5 separate regions of the Homo sapiens genome follow, and regions 1, 2, 3 and 4 are each linked to region 5. The links are contacts of gene promoters, found by promoter capture Hi-C in blood cells and fetal thymus (Javierre and others, 2016). All regions are on one chromosome and are shown on one strand. The core of a region is centred on a gene start or on the middle of the fragment in contact, and the rest is flanking DNA. Distances in the headings are between cores, read along the strand shown. Region 1 overlaps FAM200A (family with sequence similarity 200 member A). Region 2 overlaps ZKSCAN5 (zinc finger with KRAB and SCAN domains 5). Region 3 overlaps STAG3L5P-PVRIG2P-PILRB (STAG3L5P-PVRIG2P-PILRB readthrough). Region 4 overlaps ZSCAN25 (zinc finger and SCAN domain containing 25). Region 5 holds the start of ZKSCAN1 (zinc finger with KRAB and SCAN domains 1).

Region 1 (2,700 bases), core at 121-2,620, 470 kb before region 5:
AATATCAGTGCTCTCATCGAGTTGGATTGCAAAGTCTATACCGGACTGCAGCCGTGTAATAAGCATTGCTTCCAAATGTTTTGCAATCGTACAGATTCGACGAGATATTGTATTATCACTAAGAGGTATAGTTCTTAGTTTATCAGCTGATTTGTCATCAAAAATTGTCCGTACCATGTCCATACATGCTGGAAGGATAATTTTTTCAGCCGCTGTGTGAGCCATTTTCTCTTTTGCCACTCTATATGCAACTAAATACGATGACAATAAGGCTCTCTCATTCATAGTTGTAGAGCGACTGAGAACTTGTGGCGATGACTCTACTTTGTTTCTTTCCTTTTGAAAATGGTCTTCTTCATCTTCCTCCTCCACCTTCACTATCACGATGCCTTCCATCTCCTGGGTACCCCCTGGAGACAAATCTGTAGTATCCCTTGATTCAGGAGTCATTATTCAGGTTCCAGGAACTGGCTCACTTGATCCAAATAGGGTCTGTTTTGCAGGGCTGTCCTTTGTGACCTAGGTTTTATGAGATCAGGTTTTGCTATCCTGCAGGGTAGAAAAACGTAACAGCAGTATTAAAAAGCAACATGGTATTGCTGGGCTAACAACTCATACAAAACAATTCACTAAATCTAGTGGTGTGACATGGTAAATGATGAGCAACTGTCATTCATGTTGGCTGTGTGTCAGGGAGATTTGGTGTACTATATACACCACTCATTTAATACCCAGGGAAACCTAATGAGGTTCACATAATTACTATTCTTATATTACAGATGAAAAATAAAAGTTCAGAAAGATTAAATGTGTCTAACAACCCACAGTAAGTATAGAACCAGCACTCAAATCCAAGTCTGAAGCGAGTGTCCTAAATATGCTGCTACACTGCCAACTCTAAAAAGTGATCTGGTCATTCTTTTTTTTTTTTTTTTTTTTGAGATGGAGTTTCGCTCTTGTTGCCCAGGCTGGAGTGCAAGGGCACGATCTCGGCTCACTGCAACCTCCACTTCCCAGGTTAAAGTGATTCTCCTGCCTCTGCCTCCCAAGTAGCTGGAATTACAGGCCATGTGCCACCACGCCTGGGCAACTGAGCAAGACGCTGTCTCAAAAAAAAAAAACAAAAAACAAAAAACAAAAAAAACCATCAGGTAGGGTACATAGGGTACACAAGATGATCCACTGGGGCATAGGGAAAAAAATGAGAACTTGTATTTCTTAAAAATAAGAAATTAAGCTGCATAATTATTCAGTATTATGAATATTGAAACATGTTCATGTTACATAGATCCATGAATTATTCTGGAGGGAGAATGAGATTTCCACAACACATGCGATTGACAAAACACCCTCATTTGTTTGTTTGCTTTTAGTACACTGCAATATTTCACCATTCATGTGAGTTTAGTGGATTTAAAGATATTACCTGACTTAGGAAACAACAGGTGCCGGAGAGGATGTGGAGAAATAGGAATACTTTTACGTTGTTGGTGGGACTGTAAACTAGTTCAACCACTGTGGAAGACAGTGTGGCGATTCCTCAAAGATCTAGAACTAGAAATACCATTTGACCCAGCCATCCCATTACTGGGTATATACCCAAAGGATTATAAATCATGCTGCTATAAAGACACATGCACATGTATGTTTATTGCGGCACTATTCACAATAGCAAAGACTTGGAACCAACCCAAACATCCATCAATGATAGACTGGATTAAGAAAATGTGGCACATATACACCATGGAATACTATGCAGCCATAAAAAAGGATGAGTTTATGTCCTTTGTAGGGACATGGATGAAGTTGGAAACCATCATTCTGAGCAAACTATCGCAAGGACAGAAAACCAAACACTGCATGTTCTCATTCACAGGTGGGAACTGAACAATGAGAACACTTGGACACAGGGTGGGGAACATCACACAGTGGGGCCTGTCATGGGGTGGGGGAAGTGGGGAGGGATAGCATTAGGAGATATACCTAATGTAAATGATGAGTTAACGGGTGCAGCACACCAACATGGCACATGTATACATATGTAACTAACCTGCACATTGTGCACATGTACCCTAGAACTTAAAGTATAATAAAAAAAAGTAAATAATAAAAAAAAACTTAAAAAAAGTTATTACCTGACTTTACTAAATGAACCCCCCCCTTTTTTTTTTGAGACGGAGTCTAGCTCTGTTGCTGAGGCTGGACTGCAGTGGCACGATCTCAGCTCACTGCAACCTCCGCCTCCAGGGTTCAAGTGATTCTTCCGCCTCAGCCTCCCGAGTAGCTGGGATTATAGGCGCCCAACACCAGGCCCAGCTAATTTTTGTCTTTTTAGTAGATACGGGGTTTCACTGTGTTGGCCAGGCTAGTCTCAAACTCCTGACCTCGTGATCCACCCACCTCGGCCTCCCAAAGTGCTGGGATTACAAGCCTGAGCCACAGCACCTGGCCAACGAACCCCTTTTCTTTGGTACTGTGTCACTTAGCCTCTCTCAATAATGCAAGTAACTTTCTGTATGTTGGTGGCACAAATGGAAATGAATGTGGGGCCATAGGTTTTGCTTAGCTGAATGTTAAATTCAGTCTATCGGCAGATTCCAAAATTGGAAGAGACCTTGAGATAATCTATTTTACTTTACTTAGGACACATTTGAGACTTGGTGGGTCTATGTGTTTCATCCAAGAACATCAATGGCAGAA
Region 2 (2,700 bases), core at 143-2,642, 490 kb before region 5:
GAATCCGGGAGGTGAAGGTTGCAGTGAGCTGAGATCATGCCATTGCACTCCAGCCTAGGTGACAATGTGAGACCCTATCTCAAAAAAAAAAAAAAAAAAAAAAAAAAATGGAGGGGCAGTTAGCTGATGTTGGGAGATCCCTGGAAAGCAGGAAGGTATGGTGAGATCTGGGGTACAGGAAGGAGGAAGGACTGACCTTGGCTCGAGAGACATGTCTCCACTGAGAGACAAGGGGAGGAGGAAGTGAGTAGGCTGCCTGCTGAACGCAGGAACTCATGCCTGTAATCTCAGCACTTTGGGAGGCCAAGGAAGGAGGATCACTTGAGGCCAGGAGTTCGAGACCAGCCTGGGCAACATAGTGAGACAAACCCTTACAAAATATACAAAAATTAGCTAGGCGTGGTGGTGCATGCCTGTAGAGGCTGAGGTGGGAGGATCGCTTCAACCAGGGAGTTAGAAGTAACAGTAAGCTGTGATTGTGCTGCTGTGTTCCAGCCTGGGTGACAGAGCAAGACCCAGTCTCAAATCAATCAATCAATCAATCAATCAATCAATGTGTGAGACCAGTAGATATGAATAAAAGAGAAAAAAAATACTATGGTAGCTGGGATTAGCTGCATAGTTAAATGAGGGAGGAAAAAACATAAAAAGTCTGGTTTTGTGATAGGGTTTTTTGTTTATATCCCTGTTTTTACTGTTTCAGTGTCTTTTTAGGAAGGTAAGTAAAAGTAGCTATATGGTAAATTAAAATTAAAATTGTCTTCATAGTTTAGGAATTATAACTTCTGACTATATCAAAAAAGGATTATGGTAGCTCCCTTAAAGGTCATTGTAAGGATTAAATATACCATAAAATTGTAAAGTACTTAGTGTAGTGCTGGACTCATAGCACTCAGCAAATGTTTAGCTCTTATTACTAATATAATACAGAAAACTCTCCTCATGAAAACATCTTGGGACATTCTTAATAGGCCATGATACTCCCTGGGTTTTTTTTTTTTTTTTTGGGACAGAGTCTCGCTCTGTCACCCAGACTGGAGTGCAGTGGTGTGATCTCAACTCACTGCAACCTCTGCCTCCTGGGTTCAAGCGATTCTCGTGCCTCAGCCTCCTGAGTAGCTGGGATTACAGGTGTGTGCCACGACGCCTGGCTAATTTTTTTCGTATTTTTAGTAGAGACAGGTTTTCATCATGTTGGCCAGGCTGGTTTCAAACTCCTGACCTCAAGTGATCCGCCTACCTCGACCTCCCACAGTGCTGGGATTACAGGCGTGAGCCACCACACCCGGCTGATAATTTTTGTATTTTTTGTAGAGACGGGGTTTCGCTGTGTTGGTCAGGCTGGTCTCGAACTCCTGGCCTCAAGTGAACCGCCCGCCTTGGCTTCCCAAAGTGCTGGGATTACAGGCATGAGCCACTGTGCCTGGCCAATACTCTATTTTTTGTTAACTACTGAAGATTTGTCTCTGCAAACCATATTAAAACATCAGTGTTTTGAGTAAAGTATCTTGCTGATACAGTTGAACAAAGGAACTAATTATAGCCACTGAAACATCCACGGTTCTATCAGTGACTGCTGAACATTAACCTAGCTCTTGAAAGTAGTAGGTTCTTCTCAGGATATAGAAAGAATGTCTTTTTTCTTTTAGATTAATTCATACCAAACTGAAATCCTTTGGGCATTGAGAAACCTAGAAAGATCACCTTTCTTTTCTAGGCTATGAATTCACAGGAAGAGGAAGGTGAAGATGGGGTTAGCTGCATAACCTGCTATCCAGTTTTATTAAGAATATTGCCCAGTCGTGACTGGGCGCGGTGGCTCATGTCTGTAATCCCAGCACTTTGGGAGGCCGAGGCGGGCAGATCACTAGGTCAGGAGTTCGAGACCACCTGGCCAATATGGTGACACCCTGTCTCTGCTAAAATTACAAAAATTAGCTGGGCGTGGTGATGTGCGCCTGTAGTCCCAGTGACTTGGGAGGCTGAGGCAGAAGAATCACTTGAACCCGGGAGGCAGAGGTTGCAGTCAGCCGAGATCGCGCCACTGCACTCCAGCCTGGGTGGCAGAGTGAGACTCCGTCTCAAAAGAAAAAAAAAAAAGAATATTGCCCAGTCGCGTTGGCTCACGTCTGTAATCCCAGCACTTTGGGAAGCTGAGGTGGGAGGATCACTTGAGCTCAGGAGTTTGAAACCAGCATGGGCAACATAATGAGACCCTCATCTCTACAAAAATATAAAAATTAGCTGAGCATGGTGGTGTGCAACTGTAGTCCTAGCTACTTGGGAGGCTGAGGTGGGAGGATCGCTTGAGCCCAAGAGGTTGAGGATGCAGTGAGCCATGATTGCCCCACTGCACTCCAGCCTGGGTGACAGAGTGAGACCCTGTCTCAAAACACACACATACACGCGCGCGCGCACACACACACACACAAGAGAACATTTAACATGATACAGGTATTTGTAAGTGCCACACTGAGAGGAGACCCTCTTCGTTCAGTGGAATGACTGATTTTCAGTCTCCTTCCTCTGAACATTTTTTGCCAGCTCTTCCTTCCCTAACCTCCCTCACTTTTCTGCTTGAATATTTTTCATCCCATCCCTGTACTGTAAAAGTCCCTTTACAGAATCATGGATCCCTAGCACATGTCAGTTTCTCTTCATTATCCCCTCATTTTATTTCTTCAAATTCAAGGAAAAGCT
Region 3 (2,700 bases), core at 95-2,594, 330 kb after region 5:
AAATAAAGCATCTTGTATTGCTGGAATAGCCTCTGTTTCTGAGGTCACATCCAAACTTAGCGAGGCAGCTTAACCTGGTGAGAGACACGGGTTCAACTCCTGGCTTCTGCACTGCCAGGGCAAAGGACTGCCGTTTGCTGACACAGTCTTGTAATTCAATTTAATTTTTTAACCAAGGTGTGGGAGAAGGCAGCTCCGCATAATGCTGAATATTATGGGTTCTGAAGCGAAAATTTTTGTCAGGGTTTAAATTTTGGCTTCATTGTGTAAGTAGCCCTTCCACCCCGGGCAAGTTATTTCCCACATAAAGCAATTGCTAAGTATGGAGCTGATGTACGTGCATCACTGAGAATGGGTTTAGCACATAGTATCCACTGAAGACGCTATCTTGCATTAGCTGTATTACTGTGATAAAGGATAAGCTATAATTAAAGTTACAGAGGAACAAAAGCAGCCCTTTTCACAACATTTAAAACATGCATGTAAAAATAAATGCAGCAGTGACAAGTCTTATGCTACAAACTCAGAAGAGCAGAAACAACTTTATTTTTCCTCTATGATTTCAAGCTCTTTTTCTGCCCAGCTGCTGAGAAAATTTAACTCCTGAGTCTTCTTGGCTTCCTTCCTTTTCCCTAAGGTTGTGTCAAGTGCCAAAGCATTTAGGGGAGGGAGGAGGCCTCTAGTCCTCTGTCAAAAATATTTTGGATTTTTATAGTCATTTCCCTTTCTCTGTGGTGAGACTAGGCCCTCCAGGACCCTGTGTTTTGGCCCCAGGAATTGAGGCCATCTGAATCAGCTGCCTGGGTTCCTGTCTGCAGTGGGCCCCATGGGCCTACAGAAGAACAGAGGCTGCTCAGGGCTGGGCTGTTTGCTGCCCAGAACCAAGGCTAGGATGAGGAGCTCAGACTCTTCCAGTGGAAGCAGTGCTAGGACGGAAGACAGCCGCCCCTGAAGAGGGGACATTGACATACAGTTGATCTGCCTGGGAAGGTGTAATAGAGATGAACTTGTGTCATCGCATCTTTCACACAAGCCACAAAGAAAGCTAATCCTGATTCCTGGTGAGAAGAAACCAAACTCGAGGAATGTTTTATATCACAGGACGGTCACAGCCTGTACTGGGGCACGAGCCAGGGCTGAGTAGAGTGCTGCCCCTGCACTCACTGACTTGATCCTCTCATTTACTCTGTGGAGCAGTCCCTGTTGGGATCCTGCTGCTTTGGGAAATTGCTCTGTTAAGCTTGCAGAGCTATGAAATTGTGGCCCTATTTCAAACCCATGAGGGCCTGATTCTACAGACTGACCACTGGGCTCTTTTACTTCAGCAGGACTTGGGCTGGGGCTGCAGGGATTTCACCAAGGAATGTCAGGCAGGAGGTGGCCATTGTGAAACCTGTCCCATCTTGCCTGTACCTCCTGGCTGAAAGTGGGATGCAGGACTTAGATTGCCAAGCTTAGGAATTATTTGTGGCTCTGCTGTTCACAATTTTGGAGAATGTTAAGGAATACTCAAGAAGTTGTGAGAGTAAGGGCCCTCACATATATCAGAACATGAAAGCATTCCAGTTAGGACCTTGTGATATTGAAACTAGAATAAGCAACCCAGTGGATAGACTGTGAAAGAGAATCCACATATAGACCTATGTGTAAGAATTTATGATCAAGGTGGCATTTTGAAACAGTAGGGAAGGAGCCCAGCAGCAAATGGTCTGGGGAATCCTGGCCCTCCACCTGAGACGTTACACGGCTCTTTTTTTGAGACGGAGTTTTGCTCTTGTGCCCAGGCTGGAGTGCAATGGTGGGATCTCGGCTCACCACAACCTCCGCCCCTGGGTTTAAGCGGTTCTCCTGCCTCAGCCTCCCAAGTAGGTGGCATTACAGGCATGCGCCACCACACCCAGCTAATTTTGTATATTTAGTAGAGATGGGATTTCTCCATGTTGGTCAGGTTGGTCTCGAACTCCTGACCTCAAGTGATCCACCTGCCTCGGCCTCCCAAAGTGCTGGGATTACAGGCATGAGCCACTGCACCCAGCTACACAGCCTTTTTTTTTTTCTTTTTTTGAGACAGAGTCTCGCTCTGTCACCCAGGCTGGAGTGCAGTGGCGCGATCTCTGCTCACCGCAAGCTCCGCCTCCCGGGTTCACGCCATTCTCCTGCCTCAGCCTCCTGAGTAGCTGGGACTACAGGCGCCCGCCACCACACCCAGCTAATTTTTTTCGTATTTTTAGTAGAGACAGGGTTTCATCGTGTTAGCCAGGACAGTCTCGATCTCCTAACCTCATGATCTGCCTGCCTCGGCCTCCCAAAGTGTTGGGATTACAGGCATGAGCCACCATGCCCGGCCTACACAGCCTTTTTAACACCACCTCCAAAGTAAAGTTCTTCATGGACTAGGAAGAAACTCTTTATAGAGTTATGCATAAAAACAAAGCCATAAAAATATTTTCATAATCTTAGCCTTCCTAAGGAATACACAAACAGAAATGATAATGTTAAAGATCAAGCCTCATGAGAATTCAAACAGGGAGGGGAACAGAAGGAGCTGGCCAAAGGAGAACTTTGTGTTCTATGTTGTTTGAATCTTACACAATGAGAATTTAGGGGATAATGTGACTTAAAAAATTGAAAAAAAAAATGAAAATGGTGGGTAGTCAACTTTGCACCATGGCTTTTAAATCCCTCAATAAATTCTGGGCT
Region 4 (2,700 bases), core at 7-2,506, 380 kb before region 5:
ACGTGATGCCTCTGGGGGTTGTGCGTTGGGGATGCATGCGACAGCCCATGACCCGAGGCATTCTCAGGGTATCTGTGCTGTGTGCCCGTGAGAACATCTTCCCATGACCACTCCTGCCCTCCTGCCCCGTGCTGGATCTTCCCTCCCCAGCTGGGATCTGCTCCCAGGCAACTGTGTGAATTTTACATTATTTGGAGCCTCATCTGTGTCAGGCTATAACATTCTATCCTCATCTGTAAAACTTCCCCGTCCATTATTCCTTGCACTATAACAACTGTCAACACACCAACTATTAGGAAGTTAGTATTTTGCTATTGATCACTGAATAAACATCAGAGTATTTTAAAAAACAGTTCTCTAGAAAGAACTGTTATAATTAAAATGAGTCTGAAAGATGAACTCTAGTATTAATGCCCTATATTTGATGGCACTTTATAGTTCATAAAATTAATTTCACCCCATTCTCATTGGACCCATTTCCCAAGTATTTATTGAGGCCCTGTAACAAACATGTCAGGAACTCTTCTGGGTGCTTGAGACACATCCATGAATAAAATAGGGGGAGAAGCTGTTGACCTCGTAGAGCTTATGTCTCGTGGATGTACCTGATCTTCAGAACCCGTGGATATTCCTGCAAATCCTCTGGGCCTGTATTCATTGCTTTGTCAGCATCTTGCCCTGAAATGCATTTGTCACCTACCTCTTGTTACTAAATGGTCTCTGCCCTCCAGACCCTTGTCATCCAAGGCACTAGGGGTCCTGGACACCCACTGGGGATGATGAGCTGGTAGCGACCTGTTTTGCATGAGTGCCAAGTCAGGAAAAATAAAGATATTTGTAGGCATTAAAAAAAAATACATTTCTTTAAAAATGAGAAGATGCAATATTTGTAAACTGTTGAAGCTTCCTTATTGTGCCATCACTTAAGGGTTTCATTTCTGTTTAAAGTTCTGGAAGCTGCATAACTAGCGTGGACTGACTGCTGTGTCATTGTGCTGTGCCTTTGAACCCTGGCTGAGTGAGTGAGTTTGTCCTTTGTTGATAGTGTCCTATAATTGCAAAATGTGGTTTGTCTTCTGATGCCTCTTAATACCAGATTCTTTTACTGAGATTTTTTTTTTTCATTTTCCATTGTAAATAAGGTAAATGGTAATGACTAACACAAAGCTGTATTACTCAGCCCACTTTGAAACGTGGTTTTATCACCTGTTCTTGTTAGGCAGCATGGTGTCTAATTTTGGCTTAGCAAATGACGCTCCTTGGTCTTCCTGGCTCATTAGCTGTGCCCACGAGGCTGCACTGACTGGGTCGTAAATGTATCTGAGATGTCCACACGGGGCTGCTGCTGCTCCTCTGTAATACTGAGGTCCACATGCAAAATCAGCTTTTTTTCCCCCGTAATTATCAGAGCAGCTAGGCAGGGCTGACAGCCAGGCAGACTCAGTGGGAGGCTTCTGGCCTGAGTGTGGCCTTCCCCAGAGGGTGGTTTTCCAAAGGCAGGTGGGGACTGGGGAGGCCTCGGGGGGCTGCTTGTCATTACCTGAATCACAGATGCTCTTTTGTCATACACAGCCAGCATTCCTCTGGGTTTCAGCAAGTTGGCATATCTTAAGCTTCAGAAGGAGCTGGGCCTTGCTGACTTTCCTATCTGGCCTCTTCCCTATCTCCTGTGGGGCCAAGAGCTTAGGACAGTGTCTCAGAAAAGCCTCTAAGTAGGGGGTTTTTCCCATGGGATTGTGGTAGTCTGATTTTTCATATCTATTCAAATGTTAAGAAATATTTTGTTTTCTGTATTTTTCTATTCTTTAGAAATTTTTTTATAATAGATAATTTCAAACCTATATAAATAAATCCTTATGTATTTATCATTTGACTTTATTATAAACTCATAATCAATCTTGTTTCATCTCTGTCCACTCCTTCCTCCCCGTCTTCCTCCCCCACTGAAGTTTCGAAGTGTATCCCAAGTGTTGTTTATAACCATTTCAGTGTGTACCTGTAAAAGGTAAGGGCGGCTGGGTGTGGTGGCTTACACCTGTGATCCCACCACTTTGGGAGGCCAAGGTGGGATTGCTTGAGAGGAGTTCGAGACCAGCCTGAGCAACATAGTGAGACCTCATCTACAAACAAATATTAACTGGGCATGGGTGGTGCATGCCTGTGGTCCCAGCTATTCAGGAGGCTGAGGCTGGGCATCACTTGACCCCAAGAGGTTGAGGTTGCAGTGAGCCCTGATTGTGCCATTGCACTCCAGCCTGGGAGACAGAGCAAGACCCTGTCTCAAAACAAAACAGTTCCTTAATGTCAAAATATCCAGTGAATTTTAAGAACCCACCTAATTTTTCAATATAATATAATTTGTTGCTTTGTCTCTTAAGGCTTATAATCTGTAGTACTTATCCTTTTCTTCTTGAGATTTATTCATTTTAAAAAACTCGATCATTTATCCTGGAGAGTTTTTTACATTCTGCATTTTCTGTTGTTTTTTTTTTTTTTGAGCTGGAGTCTCGCTCTGTTGCCCAGGCTGGAGTGCAGTGGCACAGTCTCAGCTCACCGCAACCTCCCTGTCCCGGGTTCAAGCGATTCTCCTGCCTCAGCCTCCCAAGTAGCTGGGATTACAGGCATGTGCCACCATGCCCAGCTAATCATTCTGCATTTTCTGTTTGCATACCCATGGCGTGATTTAACATATTTCCCTGC
Region 5 (2,700 bases), core at 189-2,688:
GCTCTGTGGCCCAGACTGGGGTGCAATGGCACAATCATAGCTCACTGCAGCCTCAACCTCCTGGGCTCAATCTATCCTTCTACCTCAGCCTCCCAAGCAGCTGGGACCACTGGCACACACTACCCTGCACCCAGCTAATTTTAGTATTTTTTGTAGAGAGAGGGTCTCATTACGTTGCTTAGGCTGGTCTCCAACTCTTGGGCTCAAGAATCCTCCCGTCCCAGCCTCCCGAAGTGCTAAGATTACAGGCTTGAGTCATCGTGTCTGGCCCTGTCATTGCTTTTTAGTTTTCAAACATTTTTTAAAAAGTAAATCTGGCCGGGCACGGTGGCTCACGCCTGTAATTCCAGCACTTTGGGAGGCTGAGGCGGGTGGATCACAAGGTCAGTAGATCGAGACCATCCTGGCCAATATGGTGAAACCCTGTTCTCTACCAAAAATACAAAAATTAACCAGGCATGGTGGTGTGCGCCTGTAGTCCCAGGTACTCAGGAGGCTAAGGCAGGAGAATCGCTTGAACCTGGGAGGTGGAGGTTGCAGTGAGCCAAGATGGTGCCACTGCACTGCAGGCTGGGTGACAGAGCGAGACTCCATCTAAAAAAAAAAAGTAAATCTCTCCAAGCAGTAAGAGTCATGCAACCAAGCTACTGAGTTTCTCCCATGAACTTGTCTCGGAACATAGTGGAAAGTCACAACCATTAAAGCCTGTAGTCCCCCCCACCCTTGCACAACGTGGCCCCCTCTTATGCGTGCCTTACCCTGCAAGGCAAAGATGAAGGCTGTAACTGTGGTAGGTTGTGAAAGCACTTTGAAGGTAAAAGTGTCTGTTGTTACTCTGAAAACTCCTTTTAAACGGCTATAATAGCATATGCCACATGAGCAAAGCACAGAACCTTATAACTATGCTTGCTTGTGGAAAGACATCCCTTGTCCACGGGCCAAGTATTTGAAAATACCACTCCATATAGCTCCAGGGCCCTGAGAGAAGCTACCGTGGCAGCTTTGGGAAACCAGCCACCCTTGGCTTCACTTTGATCTTCCTCAGTCTACATCCTTGTTTCAGTTCCTTTGCCACAGACATACAATTACCAAGTACTATATTGCTTGATAATAACTATAATTACTACAAGGACTGCCTGAGATGAAAAAGACAGGTGAAATCGAACTTTCACATGGACTGGTGTCTGAGCTGGAGAGTCTGTTTGAGTTTGAGTAGGGGAAAGCCTGAAACCCCCCACCACCTGCTCCCGTTAGTCCCTGCATTAACTAGGGGCGGACTGGGACCTGATCCTCCAAGCTGGAGGCTTGAAAACTCAAGGGCAGGCGCCTGGTCCAGCGATTCGGAAACCGAGATGCAAAGTCCTCCCGCGCTCCTAGAGAGGACCCGGAAGCGCGGCGCGGTCCCGGAAGACGAGGTGGTGACACGCTTCCGGCCTTTGTGACTCATTGTGTCTGTGTCGAGGCGTCGGGAGGGCCTAAGTCCGTGTGCGGTGCCCTTCGGCCGGCCTGAGCCCCAGAGTCAGCTCCCCTTTCTCGCCCAGCGCCCCCAGGCCGCTCCCGGGGCTCACGGTGAGACTTGGGGCCGGCCTCTGGGGTGGGAGGGCGGGGCCGCAAGGGTGTGTGCGCGAGGGTGGGCTCCGCAGCTGCGGCCCTGGGACCCCCTCCAGGCGGCCCCGCTGTTGTGCGAAGAGAGTCCATGCCCCTGCCTCCTGGCCGGGCCCGGCCGTAGAAAGCGCCGTTCTTCCTGGGAGACGTCCCCGCCCCACCCCCAGGATCAGGCGGGGAGGGGGCGAGGGTTTCAGTGGCTGAGGGTGCCCGGAGACCCGGGGAGAAGCCGTCTGTGGGCCCCTCTCCCGCAGTGTCGTCATCGCCCTTTGACGTTTCTGCAAACGGGGTCGCGAGCGAACCGACCCCGGTCTTGATTTTTCTGCTCTCCCTTAGTCGCCATTTGCTTTGATTCCGGTGAGGTGTCTTTTTCCCCCCCCGGTTCCTTCGGGACCTCGAGGTGAAATGAGCGGAAGGATGAGAGATGGACACATTTTGAGGTGCCGCATACGTTTCCAGACCTGCCTTTCCTTCTCCCACCCTCATCACTGAGCGGTGATTAAAGAGTATTTGAAGCCTAGTCATAGTGGATAAATAGGTGATTGGGATCTAGTAGAGATTATATACACCCCACTCTTTCAGCTTGATGGAATGCTTTGAAGGCTTTGGAAAAGAGCTGTCCGGGACGTTAGGTGGATTTTTCAATTCTGGATAGTTGCTCTGTTTGACATGGAGTGGGGTGAGAAGTGAAGGGAATTTGTGGAAATTGCACTGTGTCACTAGGAGACTGATTAGCTGAGTGACCTTGGATAAGACGAGACACTCACCAAGTCTTAATTTCGTCATCAATAAAAACTAACTGGATTTTCTCAAAAGGCCCTTCCGACTTCGAAATGATTTGGTCAATGTAATTGAAGAATTAACTACAGTTTAGCTTGACACTCCTCCATCCCTCCCCTCCCTTTCCTGCAGTGCCCCCTGTACACAGTAAGATACTTTCATTATAGAGAGTGGCTGTTCCATGGCCTGGGACCAAAGAAAGCATTTATTGTACGGGCCAGTGCTAGGCGGATTGGAGGCGGTCAATAAATACTTGTTGAATTGAATTGTGGAGAATTCATTGTAACCACATCAGCAAAGCACTGTTAGTATATA

Evidence for each region. The method cuts DNA at HindIII sites, captures the fragments that hold promoters and counts their contacts. A CHiCAGO score of 5 or more calls a contact.
Region 1: a contact is called between a fragment that was not itself captured here and the fragment with the promoter of ZKSCAN1 in region 5, in 2 of 17 cell types (M2 macrophages and erythroblasts). The highest score is 5.6, in M2 macrophages.
Region 2: a fragment that was not itself captured here is called in contact with the fragment with the promoter of ZKSCAN1 in region 5 in 3 of 17 cell types (erythroblasts, M2 macrophages and M1 macrophages); the score reaches 6.1 in erythroblasts.
Region 3: a contact is called between a fragment that was not itself captured here and the fragment with the promoter of ZKSCAN1 in region 5, in 1 of 17 cell types (non-activated CD4 T cells). The highest score is 5.3, in non-activated CD4 T cells.
Region 4: a contact is called between a fragment that was not itself captured here and the fragment with the promoter of ZKSCAN1 in region 5, in 3 of 17 cell types (M1 macrophages, erythroblasts and megakaryocytes). The highest score is 5.9, in M1 macrophages.

What each region holds. Positions count from the first base shown.
Region 1 is chr7:99,547,958-99,550,657 of GRCh38, forward strand. It overlaps FAM200A (family with sequence similarity 200 member A), which reads right to left. Exons shown (of 2, transcript NM_145111.4): 2 at 1-549. The coding sequence starts at 450. Among named protein-coding and RNA genes, the nearest start is that of FAM200A, 2.8 kb to the right of the region's middle. The HindIII fragment of the contact is 3,322 bases long and covers 1-2,700 here.
Region 2 is chr7:99,523,083-99,525,782 of GRCh38, forward strand. All of the region lies in intron 5 of ZKSCAN5 (zinc finger with KRAB and SCAN domains 5), which reads left to right. Among named protein-coding and RNA genes, the nearest start is that of ZKSCAN5, 20 kb to the left of the region's middle. The HindIII fragment of the contact is 5,817 bases long and covers 1-2,700 here.
Region 3 is chr7:100,346,461-100,349,160 of GRCh38, forward strand. All of the region lies in intron 4 of STAG3L5P-PVRIG2P-PILRB (STAG3L5P-PVRIG2P-PILRB readthrough), which reads left to right. Among named protein-coding and RNA genes, the nearest start is that of MIR6840, 8.8 kb to the right of the region's middle. The HindIII fragment of the contact is 213 bases long and covers 1,239-1,451 here.
Region 4 is chr7:99,630,508-99,633,207 of GRCh38, forward strand. ZSCAN25 (zinc finger and SCAN domain containing 25) reads left to right here. Exons shown (of 8, transcript NM_145115.3): 8 at 1-1,901. Among named protein-coding and RNA genes, the nearest start is that of ZSCAN25, 15 kb to the left of the region's middle. The HindIII fragment of the contact is 710 bases long and covers 902-1,611 here.
Region 5 is chr7:100,014,158-100,016,857 of GRCh38, forward strand. It overlaps ZKSCAN1 (zinc finger with KRAB and SCAN domains 1), which reads left to right and starts at 1,439. Exons shown (of 6, transcript NM_003439.4): 1 at 1,439-1,569. RefSeq lists a silencer at 1,525-1,694. The HindIII fragment of the contact is 19,683 bases long and covers 1-2,700 here.